Regions from separate parts of the Homo sapiens genome. Here region 2 is linked to region 1. The links are contacts of gene promoters, found by promoter capture Hi-C in blood cells and fetal thymus (Javierre and others, 2016). All regions are on one chromosome and are shown on one strand. Each heading gives the region's core, a stretch centred on a gene start or on the middle of the fragment in contact. The rest is flanking DNA. Distances are from core to core; before and after follow the strand shown.

Region 1 (4,022 bases), core at 216-2,715:
TCAGAGGGGGATGCAAGGGGAGGGGACGCCATTCTGGCCGCCAAGGGGGAAACGCGGTGAAGGGAACGCCCCGACTTTCGAGTCCCTAGGACTGAGTCCCCAGGACTCCAACCCAGCAGAGAGGCGCCGGGGCCTTAGCTCTGAGGGCTGTGGTCTAGAAAGGGAAGCAGCAGGCCTGGGGCTGGGGCGCGCGCCGACCCCGCAGTGAGACCAAGGGAAGAAGGGACAGGACCCCGCGAAGGGCCTACCGCCCCAGAGCGTAAACAGCGGTCCGCTCCGCGGAATAGCTGAAGACCTCGCTGGCCTGCGGCTCAGTGGCCTCCCCGGCGATTCGAGAACAGCTCTGGGGGTCCTCGCTAAGTGTATGCCATTCCCAATCCCTTATGTACGCCAGCGGCCGCTTGCCCTCCCCGGCCAGCGCTGTCCCTTCCGCGTCCTCCAGTCTTCACACGACGCAGGGGTCCCCAAGGCAGCGGTCTCCCCAAGCTTCCCGTTTCAGCCCCATCCTCGAGAATGGGCTCCTTTCCTGCTCCCTCTCCGCTCCTGCTGGCGAGTGGAGACCGGCACCTAGGTCCAGACGCGGCTGCGCTGCCTCTCCTAGCCATCGAGACAGGATGTGACTCCCTCCCCTGGCCACTGACCCCCTCCCTCCCCAGGCGGCCTGCATCCTTGCTCTCCTCCCTCCTAGCCTACCCAGCTCGGGGTTCTGTCCCCGCCCAGAGACCTGAGGCTCGGGGCTGCAGATGGAATGCACGGCAGGGAGGCGGGACCCTTTGTTTGTGTGTGCGTGTTGTTGGCCTCCATCCCCACTCCCCAGACTCCACTTCTCCAGGCCTCTCTCCCGCCTTTTCATCCCGCATCCGCAGGACACCCAATCACCGGGCAACAGGTATGATCAGGCGCCTCCGGGCTTTCCTCCGAATTAGTCGGTGTTTGGCTCGGAGTGCGTAACTCTGTCTCCCCTGCACTCAGCCTCCGGTCCCGCCCTCTCCTGTGCCCCCGCCTGGCTGCGCTCACCGTGGCATCCTGCCCGGCGTAGTGGCTGATGACCCGGGAGCCCCCTGGATGCCGGCGGGTGAACTCGCTGATGTTGTACACCTTACGGTCGATCACTAGCCACCGCTCCTCGCACCCTGAGCGCTGGGCCACCTCGTCCCAGGTGAAGTAGCGCGGGGTAGGTCCCTGAGCCGCGGTCTCGGCGGCCACCGGGTCGGGGGCCATAGCTGGCCTGGCGACGCCGCGCGCCGGGCCAGCAGGGGCTGTCAGGCGCGTGCTCGGGGTCCGCGGGCTCCAGGAGTGGATTTGCTGGCGCGCGCCCAGAGCCAGCCGCCTGCGCGCCGGGTTTTCAGCACCGCAGGGCAGACCGGCGGGCCTCGCAGCGCGCGTTCCCATTGGCCGAGCCTCGTGGCGCGGGGAGCGAGATCCCGTCCCCCGGTGGGTCTTGGGCAACTCACAGCTGGGCTGCCAACACGCGCCCCCTCGCGGGCTCCCTAAAGGCGTCGCCGCCGGATTCGACTTCCTGACGTCAGGCGGGCATCGCGGCGTTGGCTCCCAGGGGGCGCCGCGGTAGGAACAGCGGTTCTAGTGCAGGCCCTGGGTGCGGGGCCGCGCTGCAGGAGTGAATGGACTGAGGGGCCAGGGCTGCGGGGTGGCCGCAGGAAGGGTGGGCGGGGCCGGGGTTGAGGTTTTTCCGTGCACGAGGCTGCCCGGGCGGTCGCGGACATCATCTTTAGGCTGTGGATGCCTTGGCCGGGGTCTCCAGACGCTGACCCTCCAGGGTTGGAAACTACTGCCTGCTTGCCACGTCGTGCCGCCAATTGTGCTGCCCGAAGTAGCAGCCTGAGAGCCCTTGAAAGTTGCAGTTATCTTGTGAACAGCATATTTACGGTCTCTTGGGCTTGGTGGTGGTTGGGGGAGGGCTGTTAATGCTTTAATTTGTTCAATGAAACATTTAAAATGCCCCACAATTTTTATAACCCTGTTTGCCTCTTTTTGTTTTTATTTTTATTGTATTTTGGAAAAATTCACTGGGATCCTTGAGTGATGATCCTAGCGTCTCCTGACCCTTAGGTGTTTCACCTGAAAAGCCTGGGTCTTCAAGCTGAGGCATTTCTGTTCTAGCCTGGAGGCGCCTAGGAGCCCTGGGAGACTTTTTAAGCAGAGAGATTTGGCATTTAGATCTCTGGGTTTTAGAGGAGTGGGAACGCACCTAAAAGTGGGGTTGCCAGTTACAAAGCTGTTGCAGTCCTGAAGAGACCCAGAGTTTAGGTCCAAAATTTTATTTATTCAACAAACACTTTATAAAGCACTTACTGTGTGCCAGGCACTGTTCTTAGCGTTTTGCAAACCTTAACTCATTTAATTCTCCTAACAACCCTATGAGGTTGGAACAATTAACCTAATTTACAGTGAAGAAACTGAGCCCGGGGGAGGTTATTTTGTCACACAGCTTGTAAGTGGAGGGCTGAGATTTGACCCTGGCCTGTGCTCTGAACTCTCAGGCTCTGCCATATTTCTCATTACACTGGTATTTGGGCACTTCAAAGGGAAAGGAAACATAACTGTCCCAAGCACTGAGCTAGATTCTGAGCACGTAGGAGTCAGGAGAGGGTGATACAGAATAGACTAGGTGAAATATGGCTAGATTTCTGGTAGAAAAGGATTAATTCATTCCATCCAAATTCTTCATTTTATAGATAAGAAAATTGAGGTTCGAAATGGGGAAGGGGCTTACCAAGTTCCCATAGGGAAGTTTAGATGTCCTGACTTCCAGGTAAGATGCCAGGCTATTGGACCCTGCTCAGGAATGATGGTCCACACAGCTGCACCTCTGTACAGCCAATATTCCTTTTTTAAAAACCTTGCCCAACAACTTGGCAGTGTCTAATGCGAGCTACAAAACATTTTCTATTCTTTGATCAAGCAGTTTCACTCTTGGTAAAGTAGGGGAGACTGTGCAAAGATGCAGAAATAGCCAATTTAATAGCAAAAACTGGAAATAAACCCGAGTCCTGACAATAAGAAAATCGCCAAGCTTATTGGGATCTGTTAACACAATGAAGAATTAAAGAATGATTTTAAATGGCTAGAATGTGAACTATATTGATAGATATAGAATCCTTCCCCGTGAAATAAGCAGAACCCAAAGTAGTATGGGTTCGCTGATTACAACTATATAAGAAATTCATGGGTATTAAATAACAGAAGAGAGGTCCTTTACATAAACCATTTTTCCTATGTGACTGTGCAGTGGGATAAAAGCTCTCATACTGCTGGTAGAAGTGTAAGTTGATTAAACTGGAAAAAATAGTTTGACAACTTATATAGAAATTTAAGATTTTTTTTTTTTTTGAGATGGAGTCTCGCTCTGTCGCCCAGGCTGGAGTGCAGTGGCCTGATCTCAGCTTGCTGCAAGCTCCACCTCCCAGGTTCATGGCATTCTCCTGCCTTAGCCTCCCAAGTAGCTGGGACTACAGGTGCCCGCCACCACGCCCAGCTAATTTTGTTTTTGTATTTTTAGTAGAGTTGGGGTTTCACCATGTTAGCCAGGATGGCTTTGATCTCCTGACCTCGTGATCTGCCCGCCTCGGCCTCCCAAAGTGCTGGGATTACAGGCGTGAGCCACCGCACCCGGCCAGAATTTAGGAATGTTTTGAATACTGAAGAGATGAAAAAAAATAGAAAAATAAAAATGTTCCCAATAATTCCATGTTTAGGAATATAGCCTAAGGAAATGTTCTTAGAAAAATATTTATAGGTCAGGCGGGGTGCCTCACGCCTATAATCCTAGCACTTTGGGAGGTCGAGGCAGGCGGATTGCCTGAGCTCAGGAGTTCAAGACCAGCCTGAACAAAAGAAATCGGCTGGGCGTGGCGGCGTGCGCCTGTAGTCCCAGCTACTCGGGAGGCTGAGGCAGGAGAATTGCTTGAATCCGGGAGGCAGAGGTTGCAGTGAGCCGAGATTGTGCCACTGCACTCCAGCCTGGGCAACAAAGCAAGATTCTATATCCACACACAAAAAAA
Region 2 (4,022 bases), core at 1,115-3,614, 250 kb after region 1:
GGCTCACACCTGTAATCCCAGCACCTTGGGAGGTTGAGGTGGGCAGAGCACAAGGTCAGGAGTTTGAGACCAGCCTGGCCAACATGGTGAAACCCCATCTCTACTAAAAAAATTTAAAAATTAGCTGGGCATGGTGGCACACGCCTGGAGTCCCGGCTACTCGGGAGGCTGAGGCAGGAGAATCGCTTGAACCTGGGAGGTGGAGGTTGCAGTGAGCCGAGATGGTGCCACTGTACTCCAGCCTGGGCAACAAAGCAAGACTCCATCTCAAAACAAACAAACAAACAAAAAGGTATGGGGGAGGAGAATGGAGCTTCCACGCCCTCCCCAGGCAAATCACACTCCAAGAACCTTTCTGTGTTCAGCTGTCTGGAAGCTCTTCATACTCCATCCTCCTGGGCTTTTTTTTTTTTTTTTTTTTGAGATGGAGTTTGGCTCTTGTTGCCCAGGCTGGAGTGCAATGGCCCAGCCTCAGCTCACTGAAACCTCCACCTCCCGGGTTCAAGCTATTCTCCTGCCTCAGCCTCCCAAGTAGCTGGGATTACAGATAGCCCACCACCACACCCAGCTAATTTTTGTATTTTTTGTAGAGACGGGGTTTCACCATGTTGGTCAGGCTGGTCTTGAACTCCTGACCTCAGGCAATCTGTTCGCCTTGGCCTCCCAAAGTGTTGGAAGCACAGGTGTGAGCCACCACGCCTGGCCCCTCCTTGGCTTTTTATGGAGACTTCATTGGTTAGACATGATTGAAGCATGGACAGCCATGCAGAAATGTGATTGAACCAAAAGGGATTGATCAAAGGCTAATGGACTGACTCAGGAATGCCAGCAAGGCCTGTCTATCTAGATTCTTCTTGACCTCTCTGTGCAGCTGTCCTTCCTCCAGGGTATGGGGCAGGATCTTGTCTGGAATGGTTGTCTTGTAACCTACAATTAGGCGAGGTAGGTTGGGGAATTTCTTTAGGGCTAGCTCCTAGACAAAAAGGCAGGAAAATGATTACTGCCTTGGGGAGAAAAAGGAGCAGGTAAAAGGAGGGCAGGAGAAGGTCAGGGAGAGAGATTCTGTTTTCTGAGGCTGGGTCAGAGGCCTAAAACACCCCAATATTATCACAAAAGACTATGACAAGGGCTATGGGAGTTATGAGCCAGAAACCATGGGTGAGAACCAATACATATGTATCATAATGTCACACCAACTAACCAGCTCTGAAGTTTTCACTTTTCCCTGGAGCTTTCTATTTCTTCTGCTATCTTTTTTCCTTTTTTTTTTTTTTTTTTTTTTTTTGAGTTTCACTCTTGTTGCCCAGGCTGGAGTGCAATGGCCTGGTCTTGGCTCACCACAACCTCTGCCTTCTGGGTTCAAGTGATTCTCCTCCTCAGCCTCCGGAGTACCTGGGATTACAGGCACCTGCCACCACGCCTGGCTAATTTTGTATTTTTAGTAGAGATGGGGTTTCTCCATGTTGGTCAAGCTGGTCTCAAACTCCCAACCTCAGAAGATCCACCCACCTCGGCCTCCCAAAGTGCTGGGATTACAGGCATGAGCCACAGCGCCCAGCCTATTTCTTCTGCTTTCTTGTGGGCTATTTCTCCCCCTTGATCTTCTCTTCCAATGTTCCTTCCTCCTTTGCCTGGGAAGGCCCTGATGAACACCACCAGACTTGGATACCCACCTACCGATGGAGCAAATGAAGAGAGGATCAAGGACAAAGCCCTTTAACGTCCCTCCATCTTGGTGCCTCCCTCACCAGCACTCAGACCAGAAGTATCAGGCAGAGAAGAAGCCTTAAAAACTCTTTCCACAGTGTCCAGCCTTGGAGGAATTGGAGAACAGCAGCTAAAGCCTGAATTTGAGGGATAAAGATAAAGTATGGAGAAGGCCGAAATTAAACCCAAATCTGTATCAACTCAGGGCTTTCACAGGCAGCAAAGACCCCTAGATCTATCATGAATCTGAGTCATTGCCTTGTAGCCCCTATCTAGCAGTTGATCTGTTGATATTTCCATTCTTCATTCAATTTCAACTTACAAGGGGACTTCTCTCACACCAGCACTCCACAAACTGTTGTGGGTGATGCCAAGACACCAAACGACAACATCCAGCCCTTAGTGAGCTGGTGGTGGGAATGTGAGAAGCACATGGAAGATACATGCTGGTCTCTATGGTTAGTTCAGCATCCAACTGCACACACAGTTGATGCATGCCAGAGGAGTTCAAAGGAAGGTATATTTAGGGACTGTATTAGTGTCCTCTGGGTGCCGTCACAAAGTGCCACAAGCTGGGTGGCTTAAAACAGCAGAGATTTAGGCCGGGCGTGGTGGCTCACACCTGTAATCCCAGCACTTTGGGAGGCCGAGGTGGGTGGATCACCTGAGGTTGGGAGATCGAGACCAGCCTGACCAACACGGAGAAACCCCGTCTCTACTAAAAATACAAAAATTAGCTGGGCATGGTGGCGGGTGCCTGTAATCTGAACTACTCGGGAGGCTGAGGCAGGAGAATTGCTTGAACCTGGGAGGCACAGGTTGTGGTGAGCTGAGATTGCGCCACTGCACTCCAGCCTGGGCAACAAGAGCAAAACTTCATCTCAAAACAAACAAACAAACAAACAAACAAACAAAACAGCACAGATTTATTCTCTCATAGCTTTGAAGGTGAAAAGTCCAAAATTTCCAGGCAAGACTCCTTCCTCAATTAGGAGTCTTCAGCTGTTGGTTGTTGCCAGCTATCCATACCATTCCTTGGCTTTGTAACTGCATCACCCTGATTCTGTCTTCATCTTACATGGCTGTGTTCTTTCTGTGTGTGTCTCTGCCTCTGTGACCAAATTTCTCTCTTCTTACAAAGAAGAAGTTATAGCCCACCTGAATCCAGTATTACCTTATTTTTACTTGGTTACATCTGTAAAGATCCTATTTCTTTTTTTATTTTAACTCAGCTAAAAAAGATCACATTTCCAGGCTGGGCGTGGTGGCTCATGCCTGTAATCCCAACACTACGGGAAGCCAAGGTGGCAGGATCATTTGAGCCCAGGAGTTCGAGACCAGCGTGGGCAACATGGCGAAAGTCTGTCTCTACAAAATAATACAAAAATTAGCCAGGAGTGGTGGTGCGTGCCTATAGTTGCAGCTACTTGGGAAGCTGGAGCAGGAGGATCTCTTGAATCTGGGAGATGGAGAGTGCAGTGAGCCAAGGTTTCGCCACTGCACTCCAGCCTGGGCGACAGAGTGAGTCCCTGTCTCAAAAAAAACTAAAACATAAAAGGAAAGAAAAGATCTTATTTTTTTTAATTTTTATATTTTTTGAGACAGCATCTCGCTCTGTCGCCCAGGCTGGAGTGCAATGGCATGATCTCGGCTCACTGCAACCTCCACCTCCTGGGTTCAAGCGATTCTCCTGCCTCAGCCTCCCGAGTAGCTGGGACTACAGGCACCCGCCACCACGCCCAGCTAATTTTTATACTTTTAATAGAGACGGGGTTTCATCATGTTGGCCAGGATGGTCTCAATCTCTTGACCTTGTGATCCACCCGCCTTGGCCTCCCAAAGTGCTGGGATTACAGGCGTGAGCCACCGCGCCCAGCCAGAAAAGATCTTATTTTTAAATAAAATCATGTTCACAGGGACTGGGGTTAGGACTTGAATATATCTTTTGAGGGGACACAATGCGACCTATACCAGGTAGATAAAACAAAGGCTGGACAAAGTGATTGATTTTTCACTGTAGAGGTCACAGGACTGTACCCCTGGGCTTGGAACCGAGAATCAGGGAAGAATATAATGAAAGATCAAAGATGCTGGGGGCAAGATCTTGCATCCTTGACCCTTGAGTCATGTGTTAGTTTCCTAGGGCTGTGGTAGCAAAGTACCACAAAGGTGGTGGCTTAAAGCAATAGAGATTGTCGAAGCCCAAAATCTGAAATCAAGGTGTGGGTCAAGGCCATGTTCCTGCCTGCAGCTCCAGGGGAAGATCTCTCCTTGCCTTCTTAGATTCTGGTGGCCACAGGCATTCCTTGGCTTGT

Evidence for each region. Contacts are between HindIII fragments. The CHiCAGO score rates a contact against its expected background, and 5 or more counts as called.
Region 2: a fragment that was not itself captured here is called in contact with the fragment with the promoter of FADS1 in region 1 in 4 of 17 cell types (neutrophils, naive B cells, naive CD4 T cells and 1 more); the score reaches 11.6 in neutrophils.

The regions. Positions count from the first base shown.
Region 1 is chr11:61,815,538-61,819,559 of GRCh38, forward strand. FADS1 (fatty acid desaturase 1) reads right to left here and starts at 1,466. Exons shown (of 12, transcript NM_013402.7): 1 at 1,018-1,466. The coding sequence starts at 1,392. LOC124902680 (a long non-coding RNA gene) reads left to right here and starts at 2,483. Exons shown (of 2, transcript XR_007062696.1): 1 at 2,483-4,022. It also overlaps a transcript of FADS2 not described here. RefSeq lists an enhancer at 1-667 and silencers at 1,188-1,387, 1,728-1,827. The HindIII fragment of the contact is 2,548 bases long and covers 485-3,032 here.
Region 2 is chr11:62,063,526-62,067,547 of GRCh38, forward strand. The region is part of intron 1 of LINC02733 (long intergenic non-protein coding RNA 2733); the gene reads right to left. Among named protein-coding and RNA genes, the nearest start is that of LINC02733, 17 kb to the right of the region's middle. The HindIII fragment of the contact is 8,726 bases long and covers 1-4,022 here.